Linked DNA regions of Homo sapiens: all the other regions are linked to region 3. Evidence: promoter capture Hi-C in 16 types of primary human blood cells and fetal thymus (Javierre and others, 2016). All regions are on one chromosome and are shown on one strand. The core of a region is centred on a gene start or on the middle of the fragment in contact, and the rest is flanking DNA. Distances in the headings are between cores, read along the strand shown.

The links. The method cuts DNA at HindIII sites, captures the fragments that hold promoters and counts their contacts. A CHiCAGO score of 5 or more calls a contact.
Region 1: a contact is called between the fragment with the promoter of LGALS16 here and the fragment with the promoter of CCNP in region 3, in 4 of 17 cell types (total CD4 T cells, neutrophils, M2 macrophages and 1 more). The highest score is 8.2, in total CD4 T cells.
Region 2: the fragment with the promoter of IFNL2 here is called in contact with the fragment with the promoter of CCNP in region 3 in 2 of 17 cell types (neutrophils and monocytes); the score reaches 8.7 in neutrophils.

What each region holds. Positions count from the first base shown.
Region 1 is chr19:39,654,567-39,658,581 of GRCh38, forward strand. It overlaps LGALS16 (galectin 16), which reads left to right and starts at 1,347. Exons shown (of 4, transcript NM_001190441.3): 1 at 1,347-1,410; 2 at 3,317-3,393; 3 at 3,894-4,015. The coding sequence starts at 1,396. The HindIII fragment of the contact is 3,782 bases long and covers 1,261-4,015 here.
Region 2 is chr19:39,266,170-39,270,073 of GRCh38, forward strand. IFNL2 (interferon lambda 2) reads left to right here and starts at 2,227. Exons shown (of 6, transcript NM_172138.2): 1 at 2,227-2,409; 2 at 2,508-2,689; 3 at 2,983-3,060; 4 at 3,319-3,468; 5 at 3,569-3,652; 6 at 3,746-3,904. The coding sequence starts at 2,400. The coding sequence ends at 3,844. The HindIII fragment of the contact is 23,103 bases long and covers 1-3,904 here.
Region 3 is chr19:40,225,249-40,228,993 of GRCh38, forward strand. It overlaps CCNP (cyclin P), which reads right to left and starts at 1,441. Exons shown (of 5, transcript NM_024877.4): 1 at 1,127-1,441. The coding sequence starts at 1,393. RefSeq lists a silencer at 1,129-1,248 and an enhancer at 1,275-1,828. The HindIII fragment of the contact is 9,498 bases long and covers 1-3,017 here.

The DNA of each region.
Region 1 (4,015 bases), core at 97-2,596, 570 kb before region 3:
AATGGCGATCATTAAAAAGTCAGGAAACAACAGATGCTGGGGAGGATATGGAGAAATAGGAACGCTTTTACACTGTTGGTGGGAGTGTAAACGAGCTCAACCATTATGGAAGACAGTGTGGCCATTCCTCCAGGATCTAGAACTAGAAATATCATTTGACCCAGCATCCCATTACTGGGTATATACCCAAAGGATTATAAATCATGCTACTATAAAGACACATGCACACGTATGTTTATTGCAGCACTGTTCACAATAGCAAAGACTTGGAACCAAACCAAATCCTTCAATGATAGACTGAATTAAGAAAATGTGGCACATATACACCATGGAATTCTATGCAGCCATAAAAAAGGATGAGTTCATGTCCTTTGCAGGGAGATGGATGAAGCTGGAAACCATCATTCTGAACAAACTATCACTAGCACAGAAAACCAAATACCGCATGTTCTCACTCATAGGTGGGAATTGTACAATGAGAGCACTTGGACACATGGCAGGGAACATCACACATGGGGGACTATCATGGGGTGGGGGGCAGGGGGATGGATAGCATCAGGATAAATAATGTAAATGACGAGTTAATGGGTGCAGCAAACAAACATGGCACATGTATACCTGTGTAACAAACCTGCACATTGTGCACATGTACCCTGGAACTTAAAGTATAATAATAATTTTTTTTAAATCTCACCTTTCTCCCAGAATCTGCAGAAGAAACAGTCTCCCTCAAACTTTGATTTACATGGACACCAACAGAGGGTGTAGCTAGAGCCCAAGTGTGTGACAGTCAGATGAAAGTGGCCCTTACCTAGCAAAGCCAAGTGGCTTAGTGTGGGGCAGGTTCATGCAAGAAATTTCTCTACTTCTCTCTGCAGATCCTCCTCAGGATCAAGGTCAGTGCTCTCCCAGAACATTTAAAGGCAGAGAGAAGAATTACCTTTTAGGGCTAACTTGTTTCCCCCAAAATCTCCAACTTTTTTTTTCTTGTTTAGCCATTGTACAAAATTGGGAAAATGTACACCTTCTGGGTAGATTCTGCATAGTGGAGAAAAGGCTTGAGAGGCACAAAGGCTGGGCTTTACAATCACTACCCCTCACTCCATCATCCTTATCTATGCATTTCCCTGGTAACCCAATCCACAGTCTGGTACCTTCCCCAATGTCATTTCTGCTGCATTACAGACACAGACTTGCAAATAGTTATGGTTGTGACTGAGTTTCTTCGTGACACCTGACCCTTTCTCATGCTGCAAGGAAAGCTTGCTGGGAGGAGCATGGAATCTGGAATGATGCCAGAGGGCAAAGCTGAAAGGGGTCATTTAAGTGCTGCAACTCAGAGATTCACTCAGAAGACTGGACACAATTCCGAAGGTCGCCCAGAAGGAGAGGACAATGTCATTTCTAACTGTGAGTTGAAAAGGCACAGCCTTCAATAATCTCAAGTCACACAAAACCAAGAAAGATGTGGGGTATTTTATGAGATGAAAATATGAGCATTCCTACTGTGAATGCTTTACTGAGAGTTGTGGGTGTGTGGAAGAGAAACACTGAGGCTGGGTATCTGAGATGCTTGTAGCATGTGGGTTGTGGATCCTGGACAAATGTAACCCTCTGTGAGCATGAGGTGGTATCTGATGAGAGTGAACTCTGATGAGATGATGTGACTTTAGGTGGGAGGTGGATGGCACACCAGGTCAAGCAGGTGTTTGTGTGAGTGTAAGGGGGGTGATTGTACTTTGTCTTCCTCTTTGTGATGTGAGTGTGTGTTAGCACAGCCAGACCAGTGCATGGTCATCTTTATGTGCGCAGTGAGCAGGTGTGTGTAACTCAGTGAGTGGCATGGCTCTGTGTGACTGTGGGTGTGTGTGCTGGGATGTGACTGAGTATTGAAGGGAAAACACGCATGTGGCCTTCTGTGCATGTGAAGGTTCCTCCCCACACAACAGCACTTCTGATGAAGGAACTGTGTGTCTTTTCATGTGTGGCAATGTGGATCCCAGGTGGCTTAACTGGTAGGGATCTTGGAGATTGTGAGTTACCAAGGACTTGTTTCAGATCACTTATGAGAGCAGAATGTATGATCAGTAGATGTCTCTTCCCAGTAAGAGTGGGGAAGAGGAATGGAGACTATGGGGGTGATGGATCCTCAGGTGGGGTCTGCACAGAGTGACCACTGTCTCTTGCCTCCCAGGCTCAGCTTCCCTGTCCCCAGCCTATCCTGTCCTTTTCATTGTGGGACAGGAGGTTTGCTAGAGAAGGATATTAGAGGCCATGGTTTCAGAGACTGAATCACGTAAAATATCCACTGTAAGCTATGTCTCAACTGAGTCTAAACTTGTTCCTCCACCCATGAAGGAACAAGTCTAGTCTCAGTTCAGACAGAGCTTACAGTGGATATTAATCAACAAAGCAGCTGGGTTCACTGGCTCACGGCTATAATCCCACCAATCTGAGAGACAAAGATGAGAGGATAACTTGAGGCCAGAAGTTTGAGGCCAGTCTGGGTATCATAGTGAGACCCTTTCTTTAAAAAACTTTAAATATCAGACTGCCAGAGTGGCAGGCACCTTTTGCCCCAGCTACACAAGAGGGGGCAGATGTGTGAGGATCACTGCAGCCCAGGAGTTCAACGTTTCAATGAGCTATGATCGCACCACTGCATGTCAGCCTGGGCAACAGAGCAAGACCCTATCTCAAAAATACAGAAAAATCATCAACCACTTGTAGTCATTGTAGAAATCAATCATTCCCTCCAGTTATGTCCCTGACCCACAGGCTTCACTTGTGCAAGTACTGGGGCTGTGCTGTCAGTAATGTGTGCCACTTCTTGGAAGGACGTCCATTGCCCTTGATGATTGTGAGAGTTGAAAATAAGGCAGATCAGTGTTTCAGGAGGACTCCCCTGTTCTGTTAGGTCACCCCTAACAGGCCCTACACATGCCAGGGATTAGGGTAAAAGTTTTACATGTATTAACTGCTCTATTATGGAGAACTTCCTACACAGTAGGAATTCATGATAATCCTCCTTGTTTTAGGGAAACTGAGGAAGTCAAGTAACCGATCTAAGATTGCACTGCTAGTAAGAGGCAGAATGAGGACTGGAATCCAGGCTTCTTGGCTCCTGAACCCTTGCTCTTACCTATGGGTCCACCATACCTTCAGGAATGTGGGGCCCTGACTGTGGTAGAGTGAATGGGGAGAGTCCACAGAGCCTGCCCTGTGATCTCTAACCTCCTGCACCATGGGAATATGTTACAGGAAGGGAGACTGCACCTGACCCTGCACCTCTCACTTATTCTCAATACCCTGGCAGGTGCCATACAAACTGCCTGTGTCTTTGTCTGTTGGTTCCTGCGTGATAATCAAAGGGACACTGATCGACTCTTCTATGTGAGTACTCCATGGTCCAATGGAGGGGGTGGAGGAGAAAGGAGAATATTTGCTAAGAGTTTGACCTTATGTGTGGGTGATGTGGAAATGTCTAATTGGCAGGATGGAGGCCCCATGCAGGTGCAGGTCCTGGAGACCCTCCAGCACCAGGCATGAGACCTGCAGCAACTGCATGTGGGCCAGCCATGGGGCCTAGGGGAGGAGAATACTCAGTGGGTTGGGACTGTGGCTCTTTATCAAGGGGCATAGAATTTTCAGGGAATGAACAAGTCACAGGCCCAGGTCAGTGACTGTGATTCAGTTTTCATCTGGGGATGAGGGGCACAGCATCTCCCTGCAGGGGGCACGAGGAGCTGAAGCATCCCCACAGGGACCAGGCCTGCAGTATCATCAGAGAGAATTTTACCCTGGGTAAATGGGGGAAGGGATTTGTGTGCGTGTCAAGTGTGTGTCTGTGCAATGAAGGAACCTGTCCAATATGCTGTGTGCTTTGCCCTCAGCAACGAACCACAGCTGCAGGTGGATTTCTACACTGAGATGAATGAGGACTCAGAAATTGCCTTCCATTTGCGAGTGCACTTAGGCCGTCGTGTGGTCATGAACAGTCGTGAGTTTGGGATAT
Region 2 (3,904 bases), core at 977-3,476, 960 kb before region 3:
ACCAGGTCCTAACCCCGGATTTGTAGCCCCACAGCCAGCTTTGAGATTCTGTGAATCCGTGACTCTTGGATCCGGCATCTAAGGGACACCAATCCATGAGGGATTTGGTAGTGAAAGGCCCAAGGGTCCTTAACCGACTGTGGTTCTTTGGATTCCCTTACGTGTGTTTGTATTTGTGAAGTTCCTGTGCATTTGCTATTCTGTCTCCCGGTTTAAATTTATTGCCAGTTATCAAAGAGTGTTTTGATCGCATTGGTTGTTTTCCGTATGATGATTGTGAGGTGCACCTTACAGCAAAAAAAGAGGCCGAGCCAGGGACTCAGGTGGCCTGAGGTTCAGTTCTGACCCTGCCAGTTAATTACAGTGGAATTCAGGGCAAATTACTTTTCTGAGCCTCTGTTTCCTCACCTATAGGATGGGTTAGCATACTTGCCTTGTGGAGGAGTAGTGTCCGTTGAGATCACGTTTTAAACTCTCCAACTGAGGTCCTAGTATGGTCTTAATGAGTGGATTCTATTAAATAATCACTCACATAAATACACAAACAATTGTGTTATTAATTTTTTCTCCAAATCTGTGCATTAGCAATCTGCGTTGCTGAATGCACCCCTCCTTGCCAAGGTCACACGGCTAGTGAGGGTCAGAACCAGGTTTGAACCCCAGACCCTTCATCTCCAAGACCCATGCTCTTCACCACTGCCTGAACTTCCCTAAGAAAGACGGCACCCACGTGGTGTCCTTCAAGTCCTTCGTCACACCTCAGTTCTTGAGCAGAGCCTCATATTCCTGAGTCCTTCCTTGCCTGGGCAATTAAGAAATATTGGCCTTGGCTGGGCTCAGAGGCTCATGCCTGTAATCCCAGCACTTTGGGAGGACGAGGAAGGTGGATCATGAGGTCAGGAGTTCAAGACTAGCCTGGCCAGCATGGTGAAACCCTGTCTCTACTAAAAATACAGAAATTAGCTGGGCATGGTGGCACATGCCTGTAATCCAAGCTACTCAAGAGGCTGAGGCAGGAGAATCACTTGAACCCAGGAGGCAGAGGTTGCAGTGAGCTGAGATGGTGCCTCTGCACTCCAGCCTGGGCAACAGAGCGAGACTCCATCTCTCTTGCTCACTCACTCTCTCTCATGCTCTCTCTCTCTCTCTCTCTCTCTCTCTCTCTCTATATATATATATATATATATATATACACACACATATATGCCTCTGGCCGGGCGCGGTGGCTCACGCCTATAATCCCAGAACTTTGGGAGGCCGAAGAAGGCAGATCACGAGGTCAGGAGTTCAAGACCAACCTGGCCAATATGGCAAAACCCCGTCTCTACTAAAAATACAAAAATTAGTTGGGCGTGGTGGTGCATGCCTATAGTCCTTTCTACTCGGGAGGCTGAAGCAGAAGAATCCCTTGAACCAAGGAGGTGGAGGTTGCAGTGAGTCGAGATCACGCTGCTGCACTCCAGCCTGGGCTACAGAGCAAGACTCCATCTCAAAAAAAAAAGAAAAAAGAAAGAAAGAAAGAAATCATGGCCTCTGGGCACAGTGGCTCATGCCTGCAACCCCAGCAATTTGGGAGGCCAAGACAGACAGATCACTTGACGTCAAGAGTTCGAGACCAGCCTGGCCAATTGGTGAACTGTCATCTCTACTAAAACCATAAAAATTAGCTGGGAATGGTGGCACAAATCTGTAATCTCAGCTACTTGGGAGGCTAAGGCAAGAGAATCGCTTGAACCCAGGAGGTGGAGGTTGCAGTTAGTCAAGATTTTGCACTGCACTCCAGCCTGGGTGACCGAACAAGACCCTGTCTCAAAATATATATATATATATATGCCAGGAGGGGTGGCTCAGGCCTGTAATCTCAGCACTTTAATAGGCTGGGTGAGGAGGATGGCTTGAGCCCAGGAGTTTGAGGCTGCAGTGAGCTGTGATCATGCCATTGCACTCCAGTGACAGAGTGAGACCCTGTCTTAAACAACAACAAAACCAGAGCAGGTGGAATCCTCCTGGGAACATACCTTCCTGTAGGTTACCCCTGAGTCTCCATCAGTTTCTCTTTCCCTCCAGCTGCTCATCTGGCTCACTAGCCCTGCCCTGCTCTGGGCTTTCCCAGCCTGGGGCTCCCCTGGTGGCCGGTGTCTTACCTGAGGCTGTGTTTTCACTTTTCCTACATCAGCTGGGACTGCCCTTCTGTCAGGGATAAAAGCTGCCCCATGGAGCTCAGGCAGGAATTACATCCCAGACAGAGCTCAAAACTGACAGAAAGAGTCAAAGCCAGGACACAGTCTGAGATCCAGAAGAGGGGACTGAAAAGAACAGAGACTCCAGACAAGACCCAAACAGACCCTGGGTGACAGCCTCAGAGTGTTTCTTCTGCTGACAAAGACCAGAGATCAGGAATGAAACTAGGTGAGTCCCACATCTCTGTCCGTGCTCAGCTCCTGCAGCCCCTGCCCTCAGTGGGCAGCCTCTCCATCCCCTCAGCTCCCTTTCTCTCTGTGACACAGACATGACTGGGGACTGCACGCCAGTGCTGGTGCTGATGGCCGCAGTGCTGACCGTGACTGGAGCAGTTCCTGTCGCCAGGCTCCACGGGGCTCTCCCGGATGCAAGGGGCTGCCACATAGCCCAGTTCAAGTCCCTGTCTCCACAGGAGCTGCAGGCCTTTAAGAGGGCCAAAGATGCCTTAGTGAGTCTCCCCCTGCCCTCCTGCCATGGACTAGCCTCCACCCCCACTCCAAGCGTCACCATGCTTTCCCACTCCCAGCTTCCTTCACTGGGCTAGCCTCCACCCTCCCTGCAGTGGGCTATCTCATGCTCCTACTGTAGGGACTGACTCATGTTTTCCTGTAGAAGAGGGTCCTCTACCATCCTCCCAGCAGTTAACCTCCCCTATCCTGTTGTCAGCCATCCTCCAATCCCACCAGGATGGTCTAACCTCCACCCCTCCTGCTGGGGCTAACCTGTGCCTTTGCTGTCTAGGAAGAGTCGCTTCTGCTGAAGGACTGCAGGTGCCACTCCCGCCTCTTCCCCAGGACCTGGGACCTGAGGCAGCTGCAGGTGAGAGGGGGAGTCAGGCCCACCCCTGCTCTCCCAGCCCCACTCACCTGGCTCTGTAGTGGCCCCTTCACCGTCTCTTTCTCCCTTGTCTCTCTCTCTTCTCCTCACACCTGCTCTCCCTTCCCTCCGCTCCCACCTGACCACACTGGCTGTGCCCTCTCCCCTGTGCCTGTCACCTTCACTTGTTCCTCTCTATCCTGCTCCCCAACCTGTTCCCCTCACCTCCCCCCTCACCTGCTCTTTCTCACCTCTCCTCAGGTGAGGGAGCGCCCCATGGCTTTGGAGGCTGAGCTGGCCCTGACGCTGAAGGTTCTGGAGGCCACCGCTGACACTGACCCAGCCCTGGTGGACGTCTTGGACCAGCCCCTTCACACCCTGCACCATATCCTCTCCCAGTTCCGGGCCTGTGTGAGTCGTTGGGGCCTGGGCACCCAGGTCTGTGAGCTCTGAGCAGCGTCCTTCCCCTTGCCAAGGCCCCGGCTCACACACCGCCCTCCTCTGCCCACAGATCCAGCCTCAGCCCACGGCAGGGCCCAGGACCCGGGGCCGCCTCCACCATTGGCTGTACCGGCTCCAGGAGGCCCCAAAAAAGGTGAGTGACCCGGGAAGAGAGGGACTGAGGTCTGGGGAGCCACTGGGAGCCCAGAACCCAGACAGCCCCTGACCCATCCCCTCCTCCCTACAGGAGTCCCCTGGCTGCCTCGAGGCCTCTGTCACCTTCAACCTCTTCCGCCTCCTCACGCGAGACCTGAATTGTGTTGCCAGTGGGGACCTGTGTGTCTGACCCTCCCACCAGTCATGCAACCTGAGATTTTATTTATAAATTAGCCACTTGTCTTAATTT
Region 3 (3,745 bases), core at 191-2,690:
GGGTTTCACCATGTTGACCAGACTGGTCTTGAACTCCTGACCTCAGGTGATCCGCCCACCTCAGCCTCCCAAAGTGCTGGGATTACAGGTATGAGCCACTGCACCCGGCCTCAGACTTCAACTCTTGACCACGAATCCTCAACCCCTCTGCCTCAGAGCACCCAGAAGCATCTTCCCAAAGAAAGATCTGACCAAGGAACTCCCCAGCTTAAAACCCTTCCATGGCTCCCAGTACCCTTGGAGAAAACTCTGATTTCTTTCAGGCTCTGCTCCAGCATCACCTCTTCCCTCTCTCTCCCCACAACCCATGCGTCAGCCACAGCTGCCTTCTTTTTAGCTCCTAGACTATACCAAGCCCATTCCTACCCCAGGCCCTTTGCACTTCCTGTTTCCTCTACAGAGAGGGTCCTTCCCCAGCCCCTTACTCGACCTTTCCGTCATTCAGCTAACATCTCCATGACTTTGTCTATACTCCTACCACCCGATCACTATCTCTTTGTCTCAGCATTTTCACTGTGAAGATGTCTCCCTGTGTGCTTTGTCTATTTGGCCGCTAGGCTGCCAGTCCCACGAGGGCAGGGACTTCTGCCCACAACACAAGTGTCTCTCAGGTCCTAACAGAGATCCTGGCCCAGGAGAGTCGCAGGCAAGACGTTCAACAAACTCCTCCCTTCAGTCTTCCTTCCGCAGCAACCCTCTCATAGGGATATCTGAAGGCTGGCGAGGCCAATGTTTTGGTTTGCGTGGCCTTTCCCTAGTTGTTCTATGTGTTTGCTCATCTCCCCAGAACGAGGCCAGCATTGCAGCATCTCCAGCACCTAAAACATTTGCTACTAAACCATTAAATATTTGTTAAACAAATAAATGTGGAGGACAAGTACAGGGGACCATAAACACCCCAGGAGGGACTGCAAAGAGCCCGGGGACGGTGGGAAAGGGCATTCCCAGCGGTAGAAACGGCGCTGTGTGAAAACAAAACAAAAGCCTGGACGTTGCAGGGAAGGAACGCCGGCTGCCAGTGATAGGGAGGAGAGGCTGGAGCGGTGGGAGTTCAGAGTGGTGTTGAGTGGGTGCCGGGCGGTGGGCCGGCGTCGCCCTCACCAGGGCAGGCGGCGGGTAGGCTCACCATGACTTCGGCGAAGATGTCCCCGGCGTACTCGCGTTCTCCCTGCAGCCCCAGCGCGCTCAGCGCCTCCTCCAGCCCCGGCGGCCTCGCCAGGCGTCTTGGGGAGACAGTGGGGCCCGCGGGGAAGCCGTCGGGGACTGCGGCGCTTGAAGGCTCTGCGTCGAGGGAGGCAGCGAGACTCTGCAAAGGAGAGGGCCTGGGGGCCCAGCGCCTAACGATAGGCCCGAGCCGGGAGCCGGACCCCTGGTCCCTGCCTCTCACCAGCATCCTCCAGGAGGGTGTTGCGGGCGAGGCCAAGCACCGACCCTTGCAGCTAGGGGAAGAGACGCGCGGCGGGCGCTTTAAAGGCCCCTGGGCGCGTGCGCACTGAGCCCGCCTCGCCCGGGCAGGTGCACAAAGGTGAGTGCCCCGCAGGCTGGCTCTGTCCTCTCGAAGCCCTCTAAGGTCGGACAGCTGGAGACAGATCCTCATCCTGCTGCCCGGAAGCAGCCCCTCTGGGCCTCGCTTTCCTGACCATAAAGTCGGGATGATTTCAAAATGTAGAATCAGGGTTTGCACCGTCAGAGGATGGATGTACAAACATAGATCGGAGGTTAGAATGACCCTTGTGGTGTCGGTGTCGCAATGGAATTGGAGATAAAATTGTGTGAACACATGGTTGTTTACATAGAAGTTAAGTGTTGTGTGGCCGGGTGTGGTGGCTCACTCCTGTAATCCCAGCACTTTGGGAGGCCGAGGCGGGCGGATCACGAGGTCAGGAGATGGAGACCATCCTGGCTAACACTGTGAAACCCCATCTCCACTAAAAATACAAAAAGTTAGCTGGGCGTGGTGCCGGGAGCCTGTAGTCCCAGCTACTCAGGAGGCTGAGGCAGGAGAATGGCATGAACCCTGGAGGCGGAACTTGCAGTGAGCGAGATTGGGCCACTGTACTCCAGCTTGGGCGACAGAGCGAGACTCCGTCTCAAAAAAAAAAAAATTTTTTTTAAAAAGTGGTGTGTATGCAAACATGTATTTCCTAGCTTAATCCACTGGGAGAGCTTAAGAGCAGCGACACCCCAATAGTGAGAAGCACCCCTAACATCCAAACCCTGGCCGCCACATCCCATTCTCCACTAAAAGGAACCAGGGCTACCTGGAGAAATGGCTGATCCCAGGGTCATACAAGAGAAGGTACAAGATCTGGAATATTTTTGTGTGGCAGAAAGTGTCCCAACAGCAGGGCAAGTCACATAGATGCAGAAGTCACTAGCTAAATCTAGAAAATGTGAGCATCAAGATGATAGTCATAGATCACAAACCACTGAATAAAATTAAAATACAAGTTTATTCTGATATAACTCAGGCAGTGGGAAAGAAAAGCTCTTCTAATCTTTAGAAAGTGAACTAATAAATGTGTTTTGTTTTCAGACAGGGTCTCGCTCTGTCACCCAGGCTGGAGTGCAGTGGTGTGAACACGGCTCACTGCAGCCTCAACCTCCTAGGCTCAAGTGATCCTCCCATCTCAGCCTCCCAAGTAGCTAGGACTACAGGTGTGCGCCATCATGCTTGGCTAATTTTTAAATTTTTCTGTAGAGACTGGGGTATCACTTTGTTGCCTAGGCTGGTTTTGAACTCCTGGGTTCAAGGAATCCTCCCACCTTGGCTTCCCAAAGTGCTAGGATTACAGGTGTGGGCCGCCATGACTGGCCGAACTAATAATGTAGAAGGTTGGAAAATCCTATTTGGCAACCACCACAGCATCGTTTCATGCAAGAAATATCAATAGATGTTCAAACTAGTGGGTGAACATCTGATAGGAATCGGGATATCTACAAAATGTCTCTACACAAGATGTTTATTAACTGTGTAAACCAAAAGGTATCTGAGATAGGTGTCAATCAATTTAGAAAGCTTATTTTGCCAAAGTTAAGGGTGTGCGTGTGACACGGCCTCAGGAGGTATTCGGGGCACAGCTTGGTTTTATACGTTTTATGGAGACATGAGACGTCCTCAATATGTGTAAGCTGTACATTGGTTCGGTCCGGAAAGGCAAGACAACTCGAAGCAGGGGAGGGGGCTTCCAGGTCATAGACAGGAGACAAACGGCTGCATTCTTTTGAGTTTGATTAGCCTTTTACTGAATGCACAATTTACAGGAAGAGCCATCCATGCCTAGTCTGGGTCAAACAATAGGACGGAGGAAGCCATCAGATATGCATTGGTCTCATGTGAGCACAGGGATGACTTTGAACTCTGCCTGTCTTCTGTCCACAAGGAATTTCCTTGCGGGCAAATGGAGAGACGTAAGTAGCTTTAAAAAAAAATATATATATATATATATATCTTTTAGGCCAGGCGCAGTGGCTCACGCCTGTAATCCCAGCACTTTGGGAAGGTGAGGCAGGCAGATCACTTGAGGTAAGTTCGAGACCAGCCTGGCCAACATAGTGAAACCCTGTCTCTACTAAAAATACAAAAATTAGCTGGGTGTGGTGGTGGGTGCCTGTAATCTCAGCTACTGGTGAGGCTGAGACAGGAGAATCACTTGAACCCTGGAGGCAGAGGTTGCAGAGAGCCAATATCGCACCATGGCACTCCAGCCTGGGCGATAGAGTGAGACTCCGTCTTAAAAAAAAG